Regions from separate parts of the Homo sapiens genome. Here region 1 is linked to region 2. Evidence: promoter capture Hi-C in 16 types of primary human blood cells and fetal thymus (Javierre and others, 2016). All regions are on one chromosome and are shown on one strand. Each heading gives the region's core, a stretch centred on a gene start or on the middle of the fragment in contact. The rest is flanking DNA. Distances are from core to core; before and after follow the strand shown.

Region 1 (7,333 bases), core at 1,395-3,894, 130 kb before region 2:
CAGTTTCTGTAAATTGAACCCTATTATCATATGTGTCAGGAAGAGCAAGTTATTTAAAGGAACTTGGTAGTATATCCATTTGTAACATAGAGTTTTGCACTTATAGAGCTTTGTGGCAAAAAAAGAGAACATGATTCTGTTAGTCCCGGTGCTATTCATTCATTCAACAAGTATTTATGAGTCACATACTGTGCTGGGAACTAGGAATGCAGAGATGAAAAGACATGACCCTTGACCTGAAGATGCTTGCTGCAGAGTGGGGCAGCTGATGTGCCCCCACTGCGAGGGACTGTGATAGGTTCTACGAGAGAGGACCAGAGTGCCCTGGAGCACAGACCAGTGGGGATGCCCTCTCTCCAGGGAAGGGGCTTCTGGGAGGGGACTCCTTTAACCTGGAGGGATAAGTAGGATTTCCTAGGTAGGGGAGATGAGGAGAGGCATCTGAGGCAGAATTAATTAATAAGCAATACAAGGAAGCATAAAGATGCAGAAGTGTGCTTTTGGCGCTCAGAGTGGTGAGTAGTCAATAAGTATTGGACTGTGAGGGATGCTGGTTGGAGTTGAGGCTGGAAAGACAAATTGGGTTCATATCTGAAGAGCTATGAATATTGTATTAAGAAGTTTTTATGGGCTGGGCGCGGTGGCTCACGCCTGTAATCCCAGCACTTTGGGAGGCTGAGGAGGGCAGATCACGAGGTCAGGAGATCGAGACCATCCTGGCTAACACAGTGAAACCCCGTCTCTACTAAAAATACAAAAAATTAGCCGAGCATGGTGGCGGGCGCCTGTAGTCCCAGCTACTCAGGAGGCTGAGGCAGGAGAATGGCGTGAACCCGGGTGGCGGAGTTTGCAGTGAGCCGAGATCGTGCCACTGCACTCCAGCCTGGGCGACAGAGCGAGACTCCGTCCCAAAAAAAAAAAAAAAAGCAACAAAACTTTTTACAGGCCAGGCGTGGTGGGTCATGCTTGTAATCCCAGCACTTTGGGAGGCTGAGGCGGGGAGGTCACCTTAGGTCAGGAGTTTAAGACCAGCCTGGCCAGCGTGGTGAAACCCCGTCTCTACAAAAATACAAAAATTAGCCAGGCATGATGGCGGGTTCCCGTAATCCCAACTACTCAGGAAGCTGAGGCAGGAGAATTGCTTAAACCCAGGAGGCAGAGGTTGCAGCGAGCTGAGATTGCGCCATTGCACTCCAGCCTGGGTGACAAGAGCAAGACTCCATCTCAAAAAAAAAAAAAAAAAGTTTTTACTTTTCCTTCTATGGCAGTAAAGGTCATAGTCATGAATGGCTTTGCCACTGACTGACTTTGTCATGTTGGTTAAGACGATGGCCAATCAGTGAGTCTCAATTTCCCCATCTATAAAATTACCTTGCAGGAATATTTTAAGGACTCAAAAAATGATGGCGGGACCTGATGGCTGACGCCTGTAGTCGCAGCATTTTGGGAGACTGAGGTGGGTGGATTGCTTGAGGCCAGGAGTTTGAGACCAGCCTGGCCAACATGGCGAAACCCTGTCTCTACTAAAAATACAAAAATTAGCCAGGCATGGTGGTGCATGCCTGTAATCCCAGCCGCTTGGGAGGCTGAGGCATAAGAATCGCTTGAACCCAGAAGGCGGAGGTTGCAGCGAGCGGAGATCATGCCACTGCACTCCAGCCTGGGCTGGACGAGACCCTCTCTCAAAAAAAAAGATAACTATTACAATCTAATTTGCATTTTAGAAAATTAATTCTATAAATTAATTCACAGTATAGGTAATGAATCAGAGAGACAGAAAATAAGAAGACCAGTTAGGAAGTAATTTATTTTAAGAAAAAATACATGAAATAACTGAATAGGATTAACAGCATTGCAAATAAACATGGTGCAGACTTTCTACCCTAGAACCATGGACCAATTTATAACCTTGCAGAGAAGGCCCCAGGGCTGATGATCATTGTTGTGACTTGTTTGAAGCCTCGATTGGCCACTTTTTGGTACTATGCCAAGGCTGAGCTGCTTCCTCCAACCCCTGGTGAGATCCCTAGAACTATTCAGAGCCTGAAAAAAAAAATAGTAGCGCTCTAATAGCTCACAGTTAAGGAAGCTTTGCTGAATGATGTGGTCCACACATGAGGTGTGGACGTGATTTTATGTCAGAGAGCTCACAGGCAAGTGTGGCATCATTGCTGTAATCTTTGAAGACCCATCTTTAACATCTGATTACATTTGATTTATGACTTGTGTGTTCTTGGACCATGTGTGATCAGACTAAAATGTGTCTAAAAAACAGAAAATAAAATGAATGCAGTGCAGATTAGAGAATTGCAGCAGTGTGAGTTGAGGCAAAGGACACTCCAAGGAACAGCCTCTGTGAGAGGCCACCACTTACCCCAGATGCTGTGCACGTGTTATGTTTGGAGATTTATTTGTGCCTTGGACTTGGAGTAACTGGCCTAATAGGTCACATCACAAGGACCTGGCACTTAACTGCCCTACAGGCCTAAAGCCCATGGTGGGAACGGGTGTCTTTCTCATGCACGTGTGTGTGTGTGTGTGTGTGTGTGTGTGTGTGTGTGTGTGTGAGAGAGAGAGAGAGAGAAACTGAGATTGGGTTATTTGCCTTTTGCATGCTATCTTCTTTCCTTCTTCCTTCCTTTATAATTTTACTACAATTTTTTTTTGTCCTTTAGCCTGGAAATATTGATTAAATTTTGAGCTGTGCGTACCCTTTGGCCCAACTGTTTCACCTCTCCGAATCTCTCCTACAGAAATATTTTGAAGAGTGTGAAATGATTCCTATTTACAATGTATATTGTAGCATTACTTGTAGTAGTGCAAAATTAGAAAATATCTAATGGCCATTATAGTGGAATGGTTAAATAAATTATAATGTGCCTATGCCATGAACTGTTATTCAGCAAAAATTAGATAGATCTGCGTCCACTGAGATGGCAATATGTCCACAACCACATGACTTACTGAATAAAGCAAGTTGCAGTGTATAATGTAGAGTCTGATTTCATTTCGGATAAAAATAATATATGTATGTGTGTGCATTATGTACATATATTTATAGCTACACAAATATACTATTACAATGCATTTTGAACTGTTAACAATGGTAACTCTTGGGATATATCAAGAAGGGGGGTATTCACTTCTTAATTCATATTTTCTAAAATTTTCTTTATTTTTTTTTTAGAAATAAGCTTGTTCTGTCACCCAAGCTGGAGTGCAGTGGTGCAATCATAGCTCACTGTAACCTGGAACTCCTGGGCTCAAGCAGTCCTCCTGCCTCAGCCTTCCTGGTAGCTGGGACTACAGATACATGACACCATGCACAGCTAATTTAAAATTTTTTCTTTTTCTCTTTTTTTTTTTTTTTTTGTAGAGACTAGGGTCTCACTATGTTGCCAAGGCTGGTCTTGAACTCTTGGGCTCAAACAATCCTCCTGCCTCAGCCTCCCAAAGTGCTGGGATTACAGGTGTGAGCCACTGTGCCCGGCTCTTCATATTCTTCTATGTTGTTTGAATTTTTTCCAGTGAACGTGTTTTCATTTTTAAATGAAAAGTATTTTAATTTTCTTTAAAAATAGAGGTGGAAATACTTCTAAGTAGAGGAAGGAAATAGGTTTAGAAGAATATTTAGAAGTAGGAAAATTAAGGGAGTTCACAAAATAATGGTTTTAATTTTTTAGTGAACTACAGGAAAGGTAGGGTCTGCTCGCTGGGGTTGGGATGTGTGCCAGGAAGTGTCTGGGGGCTTGCGGAGAAAGACAGAAAACCAGAGTAAGCATGGGGAGGAGGAGAGTCAGGGAGCTCGGTCCTCTTGGTGCCAACATGCAGTAATTCACCTTTAGAAACAGTTGATTCGAAATGGTATGAGATTCAGTATGGAAGTGGCCTGCTTTTCAGCAACCTGACAGTAAAAGAACTAGAGGATGAATATTCATACTTTTAAAATGGTTTAGGGCTTTAAAGAGTTTCACTTAAGGCATTCTTATAATACATGTCTCCCTACTTCCACGCCTTCCCCAGGGGTGACCACCCTGCTCATCACACATCGTTGTACAGTCTCCAGAACTCCTTTCATCTCACAAAACTGAAACTCTGTCCCCACTGGACACTGACTCACCATTTCCCTCTCCTACCAGCCTCTGGCCTCCACCATTCTGTTTTCTGCCTCTATGAGTTTGACTACTCTAGGTACCTCATACGAGTTGAATCATAGAATATTTGTTCTTTTGTGACTGGCTTATTTCACTTGGCATGTGCTTGGTTCATCCATGTTGTAGCATGTGTCAGAATTTCCTTTTTAAGGCTGAATAATATGCCATTATATCGATACACTGTATATCCATTCATCCATCAATAGACAGACACTTGGGTTGCTCCTGCCTTTTGGCTATTGGGCTAGGGAAGAAATGCCTCGGTTTTTTTTGGTTTTTGTTTTTGTTTTTTTTTTTGACAAGACGGAGTCCCGCTCTGTCGCCCAGGCTGGCATGGAGTGGCGCGATCTTGGCTCACTGCAAGCTCCGCTTCCCAGGTTCACAGCATTCTCCTGCCTCAGCCTCCGGAGTGGCTGGGACTACAGGCGCCCGCCACCACACCCGGCTAATTTTTTTTTTTGTATTTTTAATAGAGACGGGGTTTCACTATGTTAGCCAGGATGGTCTCGATCTCCTGACCTCGTGATCCGCCCGCCTCGGCCTCCCAAAGTGCTGGGATTACAGGCGTGAGCCACCGCGCCCGACCTGAAATGCCTAGTTTTATGAAATTATGTAGGCTTGTTGTAGGTTCAGTTTTGAAATTTAACTTGTTTTTATGTTCTTACAAAAAGCACTTTATTCAACTTATATTACTTTTCATCCTTAATAAAGATGAGGACATTATCCCTCTGTTTTATGGAGTTGGATTTCTATGGTAGGTGGATCTTCAGAGAGACGGGGTCCCAGTAGCATGAGCAGGTGGCAGTAGGATGGAGACCAGCGAGCTGCGTCACCAAGTGCAGTCACACTTCACGTTGAGATCACCAGTGATAAGAAGGGGCACTCCCAGAGAAGTTGAATCAGTGTTTATACCTATTAGTATTGATGTGGCTCTTCCTGCCAGCTGTTCTTTTTTTTTTTTTTTTTTTTTTAACTTTCAGCTGCTTTTGGCAGGGCACAGTGGCTCACATCTATAAACCCAGCACTTTGGGAGGCCAAAGTGGGAGGATCACTTGAGCCCAGGAGTTCAAGACCAGCCTGGGCAACATAGTGAGACCCTCTACAAAAAATAAAGGAAATTAGCTGTGTATGATGGAGCGTGCCTATAGTCCCAGCTACTCAAGAGGCTGAGGTGGAAGGATCACTTGAGCCTGTGAGGTTGAGGCCACAGTGAGCTGTGATCAAGCCACTGCACTCCAGCCAAAACCAATTTGGAATATAAGTACACTGGGAGAAGGAGGAAGAGAAAGTAGAGGAAGGAATAGTTTCTTCTTTGTTCATGTTTTAATCTGGTCTCTGTACTAGTTGAGAAGATAGTTTTCTTAAATGATCATAACATGTTGCCAACTTTGATCTTCTTTCCCCTCTCTGTTACACAAATCACTGACTAACTGGCTCACTCCTTCATTATTCCCTCAATCATTTACATTCTGTGGAATACCCATTGTTCTCCAGGCTGATGTTAGACACTAGAAATACCGATGAAATGCAGTCCCTGCCTGAAGGAGTTGTACAGCTAGGAAACATGAACACGTCGGAGGAGGGCCCATGAGCAGAGGCACAGAGACATCTCACCAACAGACGGTGTGTGCACTGCAGGTGATTCAGCATAAGCAGGTGTGGCATCCAGAGGGTGGGAGGAGACTTTGCAAGAGATAAGACTGAGATGCCAGGCCTGGACCAAGGGGCCTGGTATGCCTCCCTGTGAGCTTCGAATTTTTGTCCTGTAGGTGTGGGGAACCACTAATGGGCTTTAAACTGGGGCTCACAGAAGACACATTTTAAAAGATCTCTCAGATGAAGTGTAGAAGGTAGATTAGAGAGTCATGAGAACGGATACAGGGTAACCAGTTGTCCAACTGAGATTTGATGGAGGTTTGACCTCAGGCTGCAGAAGGAATGAAGAGGACACTGACGTATACGGCAGAACCTATGCTGGTAACCAGTGTGGGGCAGAATCTAGGGTGTGGTAATTAGAGTATGTTCAGGCCCCCCAAAGGACGCAGCCAGCTAGTGGATTTTCCCACTTTATGTGCAGACCTATTCTCGTGGAGTAGACACGAAGCCTTTTGAACTTTTCCTCTAAAGATCTCTGTGGCAGTTTTGGAATCAATTACTGTGGTCCATCATTTTTCCAAGCTCCCAAGAACCCCCCTCCCCCAGCACATATCAGATCCAAGGCTCTTGCCAAGGTGTTCATTCTGTGTCATAAGAGAATGTCCCTGTATCAACAGGCTCTCCCTCATCCAACTTTGTATTCCAACACCCTCAGGAACCCCTCCCACACATCCTCCAGGTCCTGCTAGTGCCTTTGTTGGCCAGGTCCCAAGCACCTCTGGCATGATAAGCCCTCTCCTCTCTTTGCAGGTCCAGCAGGCCCCGGTTGAGTAATACTCAGATAATGGCCCTAATTATGGTTGGGTGGCCAGAAAGGAAGGTGGGGGCAGGTCCTCTGTAGGGTGAGCATTGTCTTTTAAGTTACTCGCCTCATTTGAGACCTCTGTGTAATCATGAAGGGTGGAGGAGCAGGTTCCTCCCATCTTCAAGGGAGAGGGCTATTTGCAAGCCTAGGGAATCTGGGGTTCATGTTCCTCAAATAAATATACACAGACGTTCCCATCTCAAGTCTTAGAGTTCACTCCTTCCCTACCAGGGCCTGAATCTGGCACAGTAGACTAGTATAGGCTGAGAGTTCATCCTTTTTGATTCTGCCACTCTTAAAATTAGGTCTTGTGCCTGCAGGAAATGATTGTCTTTAAATGCTGCCAAAGCAGCCTGGCATGGTGGCACATCTGTAATCCCAGCACTCGGGAGGCTGAGGTGGGAAGATGGCTTGAGACAGAAGTTTGAGGCTGCAGTGAACTATGTTCACACCACTGCACTCCAAGCCTGGGTACCATATTGAGACCCTATCTCAAATAAATTAATAAATAAGTAAAAATTGCCAAAGGAAGCTTACTGACTATCATAGCTGGCTTTATTTCTTTATTTTTAGTTTTTCTTATAAAGATGGGGTCTTGCTGTGTTGCCCAGGGTGGTCTCAAACACCTGGCCTCAAGTGATCTTCCCGCCTCAGCCTTCCAAATTTCTGGGATTACAGGCATGAGCCACCACATCCAGGCTCATAGTTGGCTTTACAT
Region 2 (6,529 bases), core at 671-3,170:
GCTTCCCTGCAGCCTGGCAGGGGTGCAGGATATCCCGGGACCGTCGAGGGGCTGGGGTGCCCTCAAAAGAGGACCCCTGGGAGATCGGGGGGAGGAAACGCGGGGCGGAGGCGGATGAGGGGCCCCGGAGTCTGGCTCTTTCGCCCAGGCTAGAGTGCAGTGGCGCGATCTCGGCTCACTGCAACCTCCGTCTCCCGGGTTCAAACGGTTCTCCTGCCTCGGCCTTCTGAGGGGCTGGGACTACAGGCGTCCGCCACAACGTCTGGCTAGTTTTTTGTATTTGTATTTGTTGAGACAGAGTCTCACTCTGTCGCCCAGGCTGGAGTGTAGTGGCATGATATCGGCTCACTGCAACCTCCGCCTCCCGGGTTCAAGCGATCCTCCTGCCTCAGCCTCCCGAGTAGCTGGGATGACGGGCGCCTGCCACCACGCCTGGCTTATTTTCGTATTTTTAGTAGAAATGGGGTTTCACCATGTTGGCCAAGCTGGTCTCAAACTCCTGACCTCAAGTGATCCGCCCACCTCGGCCTCCCAAAGTGCTGGGATTACAGGCGTAAGCCACCGAGCCCGGCCACCTTTTTCCCTTCTCTTACCCATTGAACGTTTTCCCTCCAATTCAATCCAATATACTGAGCATCTATTGTGTCAGGCTCTGTCTTTGGCTCCATGCCTCAGTTTCCTCAGCTGTAACAAGGAAATGGTAACACTTCCTTCTAAGAGGGATCTGCTGAGAAAGGAATGAGATGTATGGGAGAGTTAGTTAAATCTGAATGCATCAGATCCTTATTCTTTTTCTCCTGACCTTATTCCGTATACCTTGAGGAAATTCAAAATAGAGTTCAGGGCCGGGCGCGGTGGTTCACGCCTGTAATCCCAGCACTTTGGGAGGCCGAGGCGGGCGGATCACGAGGTCAGGAGATCGAGACCATCCTGACCAACATGGTGAAACCCCGTCTCCACTAAAAATACAAAAATTAGCGGGACGTGGTGGCAGGCGCCTGTAATCCCAGCTACTCGGGAGGCTGAGGCAGGAGAATGGCTTGAACCCAGGAGGCAGAGGTTGCAGTGAGCCGAGATCACACCATTGCACTCCAGCCTGGGCAACAAGAGCGAAACTCTATCTAAAAAAAAAAAAAAAATCCGTCATTTAATCTTCCTAACAACCACTTAAATTGGTTATCCCCATTTCATAGATGAAGGAACAGATTTACAGGGAGATTAAGTTACGTGCCCAACATGTCCCTGCCGCTAATGACGGAGCGGGGATTGGAATCCCAGGTCTCAGACTCTAGAAGGTGCAAAGCAAAAATTCATATTTTCCCATGTCTCAACACTTCTCCCTCTTTGGACTGACGGCCCCAAAGTGCAGTGGTCCACGGCCCCAAGCGGTCTGAGAAAGTCACCCCGTTAGGACACCGTCTGCTGACTGCGCAGCGCTTCCTCCGGCTTGGCGTTCTTACGGCCAGCCTCAGAGGAAAGGGCAGGCAGAGGCGGGTCCCTTACGGACGGGGTGTCCCGTTCCGGTAGGGAGGACCCCATCTCTTGAGTCCCTGGGGATGCAGACACCCCGAAATCCAGTATCTTTGGTCTCCTGCTTTCTGCTGGGCAGGACGTGAACCAGATCCCCAGTCCAGGATGCAGGACCTGGGGTCCACCTCCGGTTCTCCGCCCTTAGTGGGTGGGAGGTGGGACTGCCCCCTGAGATCTCAGCAGCCACGGTCTCACTGCGGCCTCAAGTCCCCACCTAGCCAGCCACAATTCCGGACCCGGGATGACAGGATCCCTCGCGCAGGCGCGCTCCAGCACATGGCGCCCTGCTGCAGCAAGGGCCGACGGCGGCGGAGTCCGCCGCTATCCCATCAGCCCGGCCAGGCAGGTCCAGCTCTCACCCGCCCAGGTCGTCCCGCCTCCCCTATCCCGTCTTGCTCTGCGGCGCAGGGGCAAGATGGCTGCTGAGAAGCAGGTCCCAGGCGGCGGCGGCGGCGGCGGCAGTGGCGGCGGCGGTGGCAGTGGCGGCGGCGGTAGCGGCGGTGGACGTGGTGCCGGAGGGGAAGAAAATAAAGAAAACGAACGCCCTTCGGCCGGATCGAAGGCAAACAAAGAATTTGGGGATAGCCTGAGTTTGGAGAGTATCCTAGAGTAATCGGGCCTAACTCGCAATGATTACGTGTCGAACTGGAGGGCTGGGGGCGGGAGAGGCGGCGGGTCCCGACAAGTCCTGGCAGGAGAGGCCGAGGGTTGCAGTTTCTCTCGCCCTTACCTTTTGGTGCTCAGAATTCCGGGGGGGGTCTGTCTCTCGACTAGTCTTTCCTCGTGTCCCCCTCGCCGTCCTGGCTAGGTCCGTTTCTTCCAGTGGCACTGGGATATCAGGCAGGTTTCCCCTGGTGCCCCGCAGTTGTCCAGTTGGAGGGCTTGTGACCAAGTGACACCTTGAGCACCTTGCTTTGGCACCTTGAGCCACTGAACTGGGGAGAGGAAACTGCAGTCTTGACATTTGGCTTAATACTCTTGTCTGACAGTCGTCATAGACTGAGTAGTAAAACCTACAGCTCGATACTTTGAAAGTGGAGGTAAAGATTGACTCAGGAAAAGCTTGTTGCCCATTTTGATTGTAAGTTACCGTAGTTAATATCGATTGTGTCATTTTTTTCTGATCGGTCTGTAGGCATTTTATCTTGCTGACAGTCATTCATATAAGCTGGAGGAATCGGTTTCTAGTTTCCATCAGTGTGTATCTCAACCAAGTGCTTGTGGTACTAGTTTGTGACCTTTTGAAATGAATAACAAATGGAGAAAACGTAGGCGAGTTTCTGAAATAACACATTCAACTTGACATCTTAATGTGCTTAAAGTTCTCAGGCGCTTGGAGTTAAATATTTTGAATTACTGGTAATAGTTCCAAGTAGACGCTAGCGAGCCCTGATTTTACTGAGACCTTTATATCTCTTTGTCCCGTTTTAGTAATTTAAAGAGTCCTTTTAGCGTTCACTATTTTAAAATATGTCTCTAGAGAAGTGTTGAGGAAACATTAAAACTATACCTATATAGATGAAGGTCATTGGACTTTCTAAAGATTAGTACATAATCTTAAATATTTTAAGATTATTAAAAGGAGAATCTGGCCATTCTTCTTTTGAAAGAAAAACCTTAATACTTTTATGCAAACTGTAGCCTAGCTTGGTTGACATGTGCTAATCATAGACTCTCTAAGCATCACAGCTGTTAAGGAAAGTTAGATTTGGCAGGTGTTGGAGATTATGCAAATGGAGGCTTAGTACATGTCATTTATAACCTGAATCTGAATGAATAAAATGTGGGGTCTAGGTGTTAATTGGTGTGAAGCACCCCAATTATAGTCAGCATTTAGAATCCATCAGCTTAATTTAAACTGGGTTTTGGCAGTTTCCAGTGGCCAGTAGTGCCCTCCTTTTTCAGTTTGCAAGTAGTAACAGTTCAGGCAATCAGTTTTCCTGTAGGTTAGCCCTGTCCTGTGACAAGATAGATATTGAAAATGGTTACAAAAGATCTCACCAGTGTACTAAATATTTCACAAATTTGTGTGTGTGTGTGTGTGTGTGTGTGTGTGCATGTGCATGTGTGACTGAATCTCACTCTCACCTAGGCTGGAGTGCAGTGGCGCTGTCTTGGCTCATTGCAACCTCTGCCTTCCAAGTTCAAGCGATTCTCCTGCCTCAGCCTCCCGAGTAGCTGGGATTACAGGTGCTAGCCATTGCGCCCGGCTAATTTTTTGTGTTTTTAGTAGAGACGGGGTTTCACCATGCTGGCCAGGCTGGTCTTGAACTCCTGACCTCAGGTGATACACCCGCCTCGGCCTCCCACAGTGCTGGGATTACAGGCATGAGCCACCGTACCTGGCTATATTTCACAAATGTTTAATGTGTTGTGGTTTGACACAGATATAGACTGATGGTACAGGTTTTGATTTGTTTGGATTCTTGCTATGGTAAGATTTTCCTTAATCTCGACTCTAGTTCTTCAGATTATTAAGGAATCCCAGCAGCAGCATGGTTTACGGCATGGAGATTTTCAGAGGTACAGGTTAGTATCACATACAAGATGTTTGGAAATCATTGTGGGACTTGCTTTGCTTTTGTTAATATCCTGTTTACTCTGCTATATCAGCAAATATGCTAGAAAGTCTAGAGCATTGTTTTTTTTGTTTGTTTGTTTGCTTTGTTTTTTTTTTTTTTTTTGAGATGGAGTCTCGCTCTGTCGCCAGGCTGGAGTGCAGTGGCGCAATGTTGGCTCACTGCAACCTCCACCTCCTGGGTTCCAGCGATTCTCCTGCCTCAGCCTCCTGAGTAGCTGTTTTTTTTGTTTGTTTGTTTGTTTGTTTTTTGAGATGGAGTCTCACTCTGTCACCCAGGCTGGAGTGTAGTGGCGCAATCCTGGCTCACTGCAGCCCATGCCTCCCGGGTTCAGGTGATTCTCCTGCTTCTGCCTCCAGAGTACCTGGGATTATAGGCATGTGCCACCATGCCTGGCTAATTTTTGTATTTTTAGTAGAGATGGGGTTTCGCCATGTTGGCCAGGCTGGTCTCAAACTCCTGACCTCAGGTGATCCACCCACCTCAGCTTCCCAAAGTGTTGGAATTACAGGCGTGAGCCACCGTGTCTGGCCTATTTCTTTTTTTTTTTTTCTTTTAAATAATCTATACCCTGGTAGCTTTGATTGAGATGCTGAAGTAGTATTTATTTTATTTATTTTTGATACGGAGTCTCACTCTGTTGCCCAGGCTGGAGTATAGTGGCGCGATCTCGGCTCACTGCAACCTCCGCCTCCCGGGTTCAAGTGATTCTTCTGCCTCAGCCTCCTGAGTGGCTGGGACTGAAGGCACATGCCACCATGCCCGGCTAATTTTTAGTAGAGACAAGATTTCACCATGTTGGCCAGGCTGGTCTTGAACTCCTGACCTCAGGTGATCCACCTGCCTCAGCCTCCCAAAGTACTGGGATTACGGGTGTGAGCCAATGTGCCTGGCCTATTTATTTATTTTTATTTCATTTTATTTATTTACTTATTTTTTTGAGACAGAGTCTTTGTCTGTCACCCAGTCTGGAATGCAGTGGCACGATCTCGGTGTACTGCAACCTCCGCCTTCCGGGTTCAAGCAGTTCTCCTGCCTCAGCCTCCCGAGTACCTGGGACTACAGGCATGCACCACCATGCCTGGCTAATTTTTGTATTTTTAGTAGAGATGGGGTTTCACCATGTTGCCCAGGCTGGTCTCGAACTCCTGACCTCAAGTGATCTGCCTGCCTCAGCCTCCCAAAGTGCTAGGATTACAGGCGTGAACCACCACGCCCGGCCCCTGAAGTAGTATTGAAATATCATTTTGTATTGTAAATTATGTGCTGTATTACTTTGACTTAAAGGTTGGTGCAATTTTATATATATATATATTTATTTATTTATATATATATTTTAAACTAATTTAGTCAAAATGTATGTATTGAACATCTGCATATTAGACACTGTGGTAAGGCATTGTGGAAAATTTAAAAATGAAATCCTAGCTGGAATGGTGGCACATGCCATAGTGCCAGTTACTTGGGAGGATGAGGCCCGAGAATTGCTTAAGCCCCGGAGTTCGAGCCCAGCCTGGGCAACAGCAACATAGTGAGACTCTGTCTCAAAAAAATAATTCTCCCTGCACTAAAGGGATTTATATTAGTGGACAACTATGTGAGAACATAATTATAATGTCACACACTGTAATAGAAGGAAGAATAAAGAGCTACATGAGCATAGAGGAGGAGGCTTGGCATAGAGGTGACATTTGTAGTGCTTCTTGGCGATAACCTAATTGGCTTCCTCACTTTTCTTCAGACCTGCCTGCAGTTCTTTCTCCATATGTTTGGTGTCATCTTAGTCTTCCTCAGGATGCCCCTTTCCCTGCTTTCTTTACATTTATTAGAATCCTCCTCATTCTTCTTCTTCTTCTTTTTTTTTTTTTTTTTCAGACACAGTCTTGCTCTGTTGCCTAGGCTGGAGTGCAATGGCGTGTTCTCGGCTCACTGCAACCTCCACCTCCCGGGTTTAAGCAGTTCTCTGCCTCAGCCTCCCGAGTAGCTAGAATTATAGGCGCCCGCCCGCCATGCCTGGCTAATTTTTTTTTTTTTCGAGACGGAGTTTTACTGTTGTTGCCCAGGCTGAAGTGCAATGGCGCAATCTTGGCTCAACGCAACCCCCACCTCCTGAGTTTAAGCGAATGTCCTGCCTCATCCTCCCGAGTAGGCTGGGATTACAGGCATGTGCCACCACAACTGGCTAATTTTGTATTTTTAGTAGAGACGGGGTTTCTGCATGTTGGGCAGGCTGGTCTCGAACTCTTGACATCAAGTGATCCGCCCACCTCGGCCTCCCAAAGTGCTGGGATTACAGGTGTGAGCCACTGCACCCAGCCCCTCATTCTTTCTAGGCCCCGCCATCAGTCCACTGCAGCTGAAGGTGCTAACAAGAGAATGATTACCCATGTCCTTTCAACTTGACATTTGCCTTGTTTTCT

The links. The method cuts DNA at HindIII sites, captures the fragments that hold promoters and counts their contacts. A CHiCAGO score of 5 or more calls a contact.
Region 1: a contact is called between a fragment that was not itself captured here and the fragment with the promoter of SRP68 in region 2, in 1 of 17 cell types (endothelial precursors). The highest score is 5.0, in endothelial precursors.

The regions. Positions count from the first base shown.
Region 1 is chr17:76,197,363-76,204,695 of GRCh38, reverse strand. The region is part of intron 2 of RNF157 (ring finger protein 157); the gene reads left to right. It also overlaps the pseudogene ATP5MGP6. Among named protein-coding and RNA genes, the nearest start is that of RNF157, 39 kb to the left of the region's middle. The HindIII fragment of the contact is 1,105 bases long and covers 2,092-3,196 here.
Region 2 is chr17:76,067,908-76,074,436 of GRCh38, reverse strand. SRP68 (signal recognition particle 68) reads left to right here and starts at 1,920. Exons shown (of 16, transcript NM_014230.4): 1 at 1,920-2,129; 2 at 3,993-4,059. The coding sequence starts at 1,946. It also overlaps a transcript of GALR2 not described here. RefSeq lists enhancers at 978-1,805, 1,758-1,807, 1,806-2,633. The HindIII fragment of the contact is 7,541 bases long and covers 1-2,594 here.